Regions from separate parts of the Homo sapiens genome. Here regions 2 and 3 are each linked to region 1. Evidence: promoter capture Hi-C in human tissues and cell types (Jung and others, 2019). All regions are on one chromosome and are shown on one strand. The core of a region is centred on a gene start or on the middle of the fragment in contact, and the rest is flanking DNA. Distances in the headings are between cores, read along the strand shown.

Region 1 (2,803 bases), core at 175-2,674:
AAAGCGGGAAAAGGATGCCTCAGCTTATACTGGGGCAATGGGTTGTAAACCATATGTTAGAAGGCCTCCTAGTACCTCAAAAATATGTGGGGTGTCTGAGATTTCATGAGCTAGGTTTCGTTATCAGGTATTGTTGACGTTACCCCTTGTAACCACAGCTCTAGGAATTGGTTTCCCAGTGTAACAGGTGGGAGAGATAGGGCCATATAGAGCAAAGGAGATGGGAAAATATGGGCTGAAACCTCAAGGCGTCACATGTACTGTACTCACTGCAATCTTCAGAACAAGCTAGAAGAGAATCAGAAAGTTCTAATGAGTTTAAAACCAGCTACAGTTTGCCATATTTATACCCAAGTAGTCTTTGTTTACCCTTTAAGTTCCAGTTACCTCTCCACCCATTCTAAATAACTCTATTATGAACTTGCATTTCTTCCCTCATCCCGCATTTTCTATTCCCTTCATATAACTTCAGTGCTGTTATATAGAAAGTTTTACTTACCAATTTCAGAGAAGTTCTTTAGTAATTCTTTCAGTTTGGATTCCAGGTTTTGGCAGACATCGAGAAGCTTGCCTTGATAGATAAAGACACCTAAGAGGGAGTGGAAGGGGTGTCAAAAAATAGAAGTAGCTCTTCCCTTCAGAAGTTAATTATGTCTGTTTTTATCTTTGTTTTCCCCAGCCAAATTTTCTGAGGCTTGCTTGAGCAATACAAACTTTTAACATTGAAACAGTACCTCACCTTTCCATGTTTCATTGCCCAGTTTATAAAATTCATTCTTCAACCATGTTCTCAACTTAACAACCTGCTGAACAGCTAGAGAGGGAGAGTAAAGGTACATGTAGGGGAATAATTACATCTATGCAGGAAGTTATGTAGACCCAGGTGTTCTCTTCCTTGCCTCCCTTCTCCGTTTAAGCCCCTGGACTCTCAGGAACTCAAGCTTCCCTCACCCAACACCCGAAGCCTCTTGTCACTGTGGGAGACCTTGAAGCTTAAATGAATCATCTCCTTAATCTGCCGTTCAAGCAGCTGAGTTCGGCCGGGGACTTCTGAAGGTATCAGATTTCCCAGCAAGGAGCCAACATCCTCTATAAATTTGGGGTCACATTCTAAACAGCCTTTGACTCCATGGAAGGCTGAGAGGGGCAGGAGCAGGAATAACCACAGGTCACCCATTTCTTTCTTCACCCCCGCTCCCCGACAGCAGGTTGTCCTGGCAACTAGTTCACTTAGTTCCTTTTCCTTCAAAAATCCGGGAATGAGAGCCTGGTTCTGGATAGTCTGACTCCACTTTTCCCGCTGTTTCCATCCCACTATCGGGCAATCTTTAGTTGTTTAGTTTAATGATCTTTAGTTGTTTACTGACTATTATCCTTCATTCTAGGAGAGGGAACTGCCAGCTGGGGAGCGGATACCTGAGTTCTGAGTGTAGAACACCAAGAGATAGAGAAGCCTTGAGCTCACACAAGCAGAGTTCTGTGCAGGGAGATGTCTCAGAAAAAGTGTTTCTTTAGCCCTCTCCCTGACTTGCATCCTCATGAGACTCTTAAACCCCCTCCTGACCTTCAGAGATGTTTATCATCAGAGATGGGTTATGGAAGTGATCCTATAGAACCTGAGAGATTGCTTAACTCAAACTCTGCTTCTACATTAGAGGTAAGAAAAGCCAAGAATATTGAGTTTCTTGCGGGTCTCGGTCCCTACTGGGGCAGTATTGTTGACAAATACTGGTGGCAGTATTGTTGAGAATAAAGGAGTGAGCATTTATCTAGAATAATATTTGGCAATTTTAATAGACAGTAACATATTTCAGGCTACATTTATCACTAGGATGATTTTCTAGACATGACTTGTAATCTTTTCCTTTTCTTCTTGCTTTCTTCTCTTTTCTTTCCCTTCCTTCCTTCCTTCCTTCCTTCCTTCCTTCCTTCCTTCCTTCCTTCCTTCCTTCCTTCCTTCCTTCTTTCTTTCTCCTTTTCTTTTCTTTTCTTTTCTTTTCTTTTCTTTTCTTTTCTTTTCTTTTCTTTTCTTTTCTTTTTTTTCTTTTCTTTTCTTCTTTCGAGATGGGATTTCACTCTTGTTGCCCGGGCTGGAGTGCAATGGCATGATCTCAGCTCACTTCAACCTCCGCTCCCGGGTTCCAGTGTTTCTCCTGCATCAGCCTCCTGAGTAGCTGGGATTACAGGCATGTGCCATCATGCCTGGCTTATTTTGTATTTTTAGTAGAGATGAGGTTTCTCCATGTTGGTCAAGCTGGTCTTGAACTCCCGACCTCAGGTGATTCACCCGCCTCGGCCTCCCAAAGTGCTGGGATTACAGGCATGAGCCACTGTGCCTGGTGATTTCTAATCTTTTTATAGCATTCTTCTTATAGAGAGTGTGGAGTCAGATACTAGAAACAATAGTTGAGGAATACTGAGTGATGAATCCAATAAAGTTCAGATCCTTTAACAAGTGCATTCTAAAATACTGGCAAAGTATGTAACATATAAAAACATAGTGGTTATCATGGGCTTCCCTCTCAGACCACCTACAAGGAAGATGTCCAAATAAACATGTTCTCCTTTCAATGGCCCTTTGAATAAAAATATTCTGTGTTATTTGAATAAATTGAGGTTGCTTTTCAGACTCTTAAGAGCACTGGTTACCTCTTTTCTAATACATTGCCTGTATGGCTGTGACCTTCTGGAAACCAGGAAACACTGGCAATCTACAGGGTTAGTGGTAGAATTTATATTTAAGATATGGGGTGATCACAGTGGAATGTTGTGCGGGAAGTTAAAAGAATTACCATTACTTATA
Region 2 (3,107 bases), core at 476-2,975, 190 kb after region 1:
CTGGGGACCCACCCCCATCTGCCTAGAATTTCTCTGCCTCCTGCCTCTATCAACTCCTTCTGAACATGTTCTGTACTTGTTCCACCTATAGAGACTATGTTAAAGCAAATTAGGTAACTTCCTTTTTAATAAATTCTGAAATGCTGCTGATTAAAAGCCAAATCTATTATGTAAAATTATTTTTTTAAATCCTAAATGAATGGCAACAGGCTTTAAGGCCAGACTTTCTAGAGTTCTAAGAGGCTTCATTCCTAAATGAATTTTTATTCTAAATCCCACAATAAGCTTTATCTTTGAGATATTACTGTGACTCTGCATAAAATACTGCTTTCAGGAAAGGACCCTGGCACAGTTTTAACTTTGGAAATAATATGTGTTCTCTTCTGAAGTCAGCCACAGTAGGATTTGTGGTGACTCACTGGAGGAGCATATTAAGGTAGATCCATTAGCATCACCATTAAACAGGAGATTAAGCTAGGCTGTATCATTCAATATCCTCACATCACTATTACGTTTGTTTAAGCAGCAAGTCTATTAGCTATAAAGCTTCATATTTAAGTGTAAAGCACAAAATACTCCAGCAAGAACAACAGAAAAGCCACTTGCAAGTACAAATTGACACAATGCTTTTAACTTTTATTTGTACTTAAAAAAACTTTCTTAAGCTCACCTTGCCTCACCCCCTTATTTCCACTGTCAGCTAACCACAAATCTTTTTCAAATCAACATCTCAGCTCTCACCAAATTAATTATTTAGGTTCAGATAAAAATTTTATTTACACCATTTTTGTTCATTCATTCTTCAGGTGTTTTTAATCTCTCAGTGTAAAACATTTCTAAACACAGTAAAGCCCAAAACTTCTCTGGCATTTCTATTACTTTCTCTGAGAACAGTCTTCAACTTGTTATTTATGAAGGTTTTTTTTTATATCACTAGTTTATATTTCAATCAACCAGTCTAGTGATTTTATCTTAAATTAGTATCATTCAAACAGTTTAAATGTCAAAGGCCAAGTTTAACCAAGGAAGAAAACATCCTTTAGAGTTATTACTGTACCACTTCAAAAAAAGTATTAAGAAAATCATCTATAGAAATTAAGATAAAATAATGGAAATCAGGGCCAGTTACATGAGTATGGGACCTGTTCAGTCACACGACCCAAGCTTAAATAAGCCCCACACATGATTTAATATTTGGCTTTTCCCATATTGAAATTCTTAATTTTTGAAAAGGGGCCCTATGTTTTCATTTTGCACTGGACCTCATAGATTATTTAGTCAGTCCTGGTTATATTTTATGATGCATGTATGATTTTATTTCCACTCTAATTTATCTTCCAAGTAGCTATAATAGCATGCACTAGCTCATGCAGCTAACTTACCCCAGGTACAGGGGTGTGAAGATTTTTCTGTTTGTGTGGATGATAAGGTCATTCTTTCTTATTCCAGTGTTTATATTTAAATGGGTAGAGAGTGAACTGGATTGACCTTTGGACAAAGATTCAGTCACAAAAGACATTTTTTAAAAAGAAAACTATTTCTTTAAATAATTTATATATATATGAAAAAACATATATATAACATATGTATATAATACTGAACTGTAATTAAGAGCACTTTAACCGAGATAGAATTTGTATACTTATAAATAAGAATTGTAATATATTTAAAAGCTAAGCAAAGTGAAGATACAATCTAAAATGCATTGTCATAGTTTGACACAAAATCATATAAATTAGAAAAATCAATGCAGAAGTTAGTCAGGAAATGCAGATAAAGACCAGACAGAGGAAAATGATCTTAAAGTGCAATATAAGATTCTTCATTAGGCATGCGGCTTATGTCTGTGCATCATTGGTATTTTGGAAAGGATGTCATATTTCCTCCCTTTTTATTTGTTTTAAGTTTGGAACCTAGAACACTCTAGGTGGCAATGGCTCCTGTAGGCCTGCAAACTTTCTGCTCTTCCCAAGGCAAAGGGAGGTTGCTGAACTGCCAAGCTCCTATCACAACTTTTCCTGTTTCTTTATATTCTCTAGTGTCTCCAAAGATTGCTTTAGCATTCTGCCACACTCAGCATCCACAGAAAACTTAGGTGGGAAAAAACCAAAGTAAAGAGTTAGAGATGATTAAACTTTAACGTCTTAGTGCTTAATTCTGATCATCCTGTCCTGAATTCATTAAGGTATCAGCATGTGGGCCAATACTTGTTTACGTAATGGTTAAAATATTCCAACTGTTTGAAGGTTCAAGAATAGATCAAGAAAAGCCCAAGAGGCCACTTCTAGGCCTACTGTAGTATTTGCTATTGAATTCATAAAATAATGCCCTTCAGAGTAAAATCACCTCCTAGCACAGAGAGCAGATGAAACATTTATTTAAAATGTATTATATGGCACAGCGTCAGGTAGCAGCACATATTTAACTACATGGAATTGTAGACCTGTTCAGGCTAGTACTCTGCTCTTCTGAAGTGTCACAGCAGCATAAAGGAAAGAAGGTTGTAAAGATAATACAACTTTCAAACATTTAGGGCGTTGATGAATACACATTCTCATTTGCATTTTATACAAATTAGCATCAATAGGTAGGGCAGTATTAAAAGTATCTTTACCACTACTTTGTCTGCACACTTTATGGCAGAATGTGCTTACATGCGCTGTCATCAACATTAAATAAACTTTTGGGAGATAGGTTCATTGGAGTACTTCTGAACGCATGAAGTCTTTTTGAATAATTGAGGGCATACATTTATATAGTGTTTGTTACTGGAATTAATAAATCCTTGTATGATATCTCAAATCTTTGAAGAAAAAAGTGGAATCAGTGCATAAGTCAGTGTGCAAAAATCTTTGGCACTAGCCATTTTGTTAAACTTTCTAGGTTTCAATTTCCCTATCAGTAATATCAAAGGTTGGCCAAGAGGTACCGCTTTCATCTTACCTGTTATGTTAATCTACTTTTATAAAGCCCGTAGAAAGACTTAATTTTTCATTATCTGTCTTTGAGACTCCTAATTTCATTGCTTTGTGTATTCATTTGTTCATTTATCCCGTAAAGTTTGCTTGATTGATGTCAAGCACTGTTCCTTAGCTCTGAAGATTCAA
Region 3 (2,808 bases), core at 209-2,708, 200 kb before region 1:
AGCTTAGTTAGGCCTTTGCTTTTATATCTGTAAATGGGGACAGTAGTGTCTATCTCAGATGATAAGTGGTAAGATTGAGGTCGTATATACAACAGCATATAAAAGTAGTGAACACTATAGCATGTGATGTATGGTAGGCCCTGTTCTAAGCACTTTGCCTGTTGATTCATTTAATCCTTGTTATAGCCTTATGAAGTAAATACTATTATAAGCTTATCTTTAGAATGAACAAACTGAGGTTGAGAGATATTAAGTATCTTGCCCAAAGTAACTGCTGTAGTTTGAGTGTGTCCCTTCCAAAATTCAGGTGTTGTAACTGTGATAGTGTTAAGCAGTTGGGCCTTTATAAGATGATTAGGCCAAGAAAGCTGGTTTCCTTGTTAATGGGATTATGCCCTTTTCTAAAAAGTCTTCCTGCAAAATTCAGCCAGCTTGCTGTTCTGCTTTCTGCCATCGGAGGACACAGCAAAAAGGCCCTCAGCAGACCAAATGCCAGCACCTTGATCTTGGATTTCCCAGCCTTTAGAATTGTGACAAATATATTTCTGTTATTCATAAATTACACACTGTCACATATTTTGGTGTAGGAGCACAAAATGGACTGATAGTAAGTGAAAGAACTAAGATTTGAATTCAAGAAGTCAGGCTATAGAAAGCATGTGTTTCAGCATTCCATCTTGGTAGTCTACTTTCCTTCTTTATAAGTTAAGAATAGTTTTTATCTAAAAATAAATTGAAAGGGGCTCATTTATCAAGTGCTTGTAATGAATGTCAGTGACCCAGGTAGAATATGGTCTCTGCCCCTAACAAGGTCTCAGAATCATGGGGGAAGTGGGCAGGTAAACAGTGTGACAAATCCTGTGGCAGCAGTATGCACAACGTGCTATGAGAAAACAAACATATCTCCTAGTCAGCAAGGTTTTTCTTTTCAGGGTGTTTTTACTTTTATAGAAGACTTTCTTCTCTCTGTTTCTGAGGCCACAAAAATGAAGTGACTTAGAGCAGTCTTCACATGAGGTTTAGGACTCCAGGTGCTAAATAGTCTACGATTTCCAAAGCTTCATATTTTTATCCTTGTCTGTGTTATTTAGCTCTTCGACTTTTTCAAATCAGATGGGCTACTTAATGAATTGTCATCTGTAGATCAAATGAAACTGGAGGGGAGACAGTTTTGATATTTTTCTATTCAGGCTCCAGTAAGGAAAGTGCTGTATATCTGAAACAAGATAGTGGGTGAACACATCTGGCTTTTTGAGCTTGTGTTATAAATAGAATATCAAACGAGTTAAGAGAAATAGCCATGTAGCTATGAGGCTCTGTGCAACAGGATTTAATGTCAAAAATGGTTCATATTATGATTATTTTTTTCACCACTCTATCCTCATCAAGTGTCTGAAAGATACCAGGAAGCAAATACACAGAAATAGGTATATATTTCAATAGTAATTATCCAGGCTAATTAAAAGTAAAATCTTGTATATAGAAAGAGAATATTATCTGGCAACCAGCCAACCACAGAGTACCAGTTTTGTCAGCGTAGCTCATTTTCTTTCAGAATGTGATATGTCTAGAAATAAACCTTGAAGAAAAATGTGAGATGGGGAAGAGAATGAAGAAAAAAGGTCTTGTTTAGTATAGGAACCTGTCCATCTCTTGATGCTTGCCATATGTGCTTTGTTTTTATATCACCAGTTTGCATATTTATCATGGTTTCTACATATTGATTTGCAGTTTTCACACTCAGCCTCTTACATTTCTCTCAGTATATAGGTAGACACCCTGTCACAGTGAGGGGAGTTCTACTTGCTGTTTAATGGGTTTCTCATAGTCAGTGATAGATTGAGCATTTGTGATATTCCAGGAGTAGAGGTCTCAACAAGTCAGAATTACTCCAAAAGCTACCCCAGGAGGAGTGGAAACCCTTTACAAGAGTGTAATATCTCTATTTAAGTATGTCTTCTTGCCAGGAGTGGTGTCTCACATCCATAATTCAAGCACTTTGAGAGGCAGAGGCAGGAAGATCACTTGAGACCAAGAATTCAAGACCAGCCTGGGTAACATAGAAAGACTTCATCTTAACAAAAAATAAAAAATTAGTCAGGCATGTGGTGTACACCTGTAGTCGTAGATACTAGGGAGGCTGAGGTGGGAGGATCACTTGAGGCCAGGAGTTTGAGGCTGTGGTGACCTATGATTGCACCACTGCACTTTAGCCTGCGTGACAGAGCAAGGCTCTGTCTCAAAAAAAAGAAAAGTGTATCTTCTTTATATTTAAGACATCAGAAAAATACCACATCAAAAAAAATCATGTGCTTTACGATTTTTGCTCCTCATTTTCCTAAATCCAAGTTGAAGTGTGAGGTATGACTTGATGAGGTAAGACACATTGAGCGTCGTGTGGTTCAATAGAGCAGTGGTGTCTACGCTAAGATGAATATCAGAATTACGTTAGGTGCTTCTGAAAAAAAATACTAGGGCCTCACCCCAAATATATTAATTCTGTTGGTCATGGGTACAATATACAGTTTGAAAGCTCTTCTAGTGATTTTAATGATCAAGCACATTTAAAACCATTGCAGTTATGAGCTTAGTATCTTTAAAGTGTCACACGATTCTACTATGCAGCTAGGAATGAGAGCTTCTGTTTTAGGAGTTGGAAAGTTAAATGTAGGGATAAAGTGTGGTATAACATGAGTATTGGACTAAACTAAATAGAGGTATCTAAAGACCAGAGAGAGAAGGTAGTAGATTTGGAGTCAGCAATGTATAAAGCTCCTTCCTCTTTAAATCTCTAAGGCTTTAAGTAGC

Evidence for each region. Contacts are between HindIII fragments. The study calls those that stand out against the background at their distance.
Region 2: a fragment that was not itself captured here is called in contact with the fragment with the promoter of IZUMO3 in region 1 in 6 of the 25 tissues and cell types used here (dorsolateral prefrontal cortex, lymphoblastoid cells, mesenchymal stem cells and 3 more).
Region 3: a contact is called between a fragment that was not itself captured here and the fragment with the promoter of IZUMO3 in region 1, in 4 of the 25 tissues and cell types used here (H1 embryonic stem cells, mesendoderm cells, pancreas and 1 more).

The regions. Positions count from the first base shown.
Region 1 is chr9:24,544,473-24,547,275 of GRCh38, forward strand. IZUMO3 (IZUMO family member 3) reads right to left here and starts at 1,425. Exons shown (of 7, transcript NM_001365008.2): 1 at 952-1,425; 2 at 740-814; 3 at 500-589; 4 at 271-288. The coding sequence starts at 1,177. RefSeq lists an enhancer at 1-1,074. The HindIII fragment of the contact is 4,602 bases long and covers 754-2,803 here.
Region 2 is chr9:24,731,548-24,734,654 of GRCh38, forward strand. No RefSeq gene overlaps it. Among named protein-coding and RNA genes, the nearest start is that of IZUMO3, 190 kb to the left of the region's middle. The HindIII fragment of the contact is 7,028 bases long and covers 1-3,107 here.
Region 3 is chr9:24,342,185-24,344,992 of GRCh38, forward strand. No RefSeq gene overlaps it. Among named protein-coding and RNA genes, the nearest start is that of IZUMO3, 200 kb to the right of the region's middle. The HindIII fragment of the contact is 4,200 bases long and covers 1-2,808 here.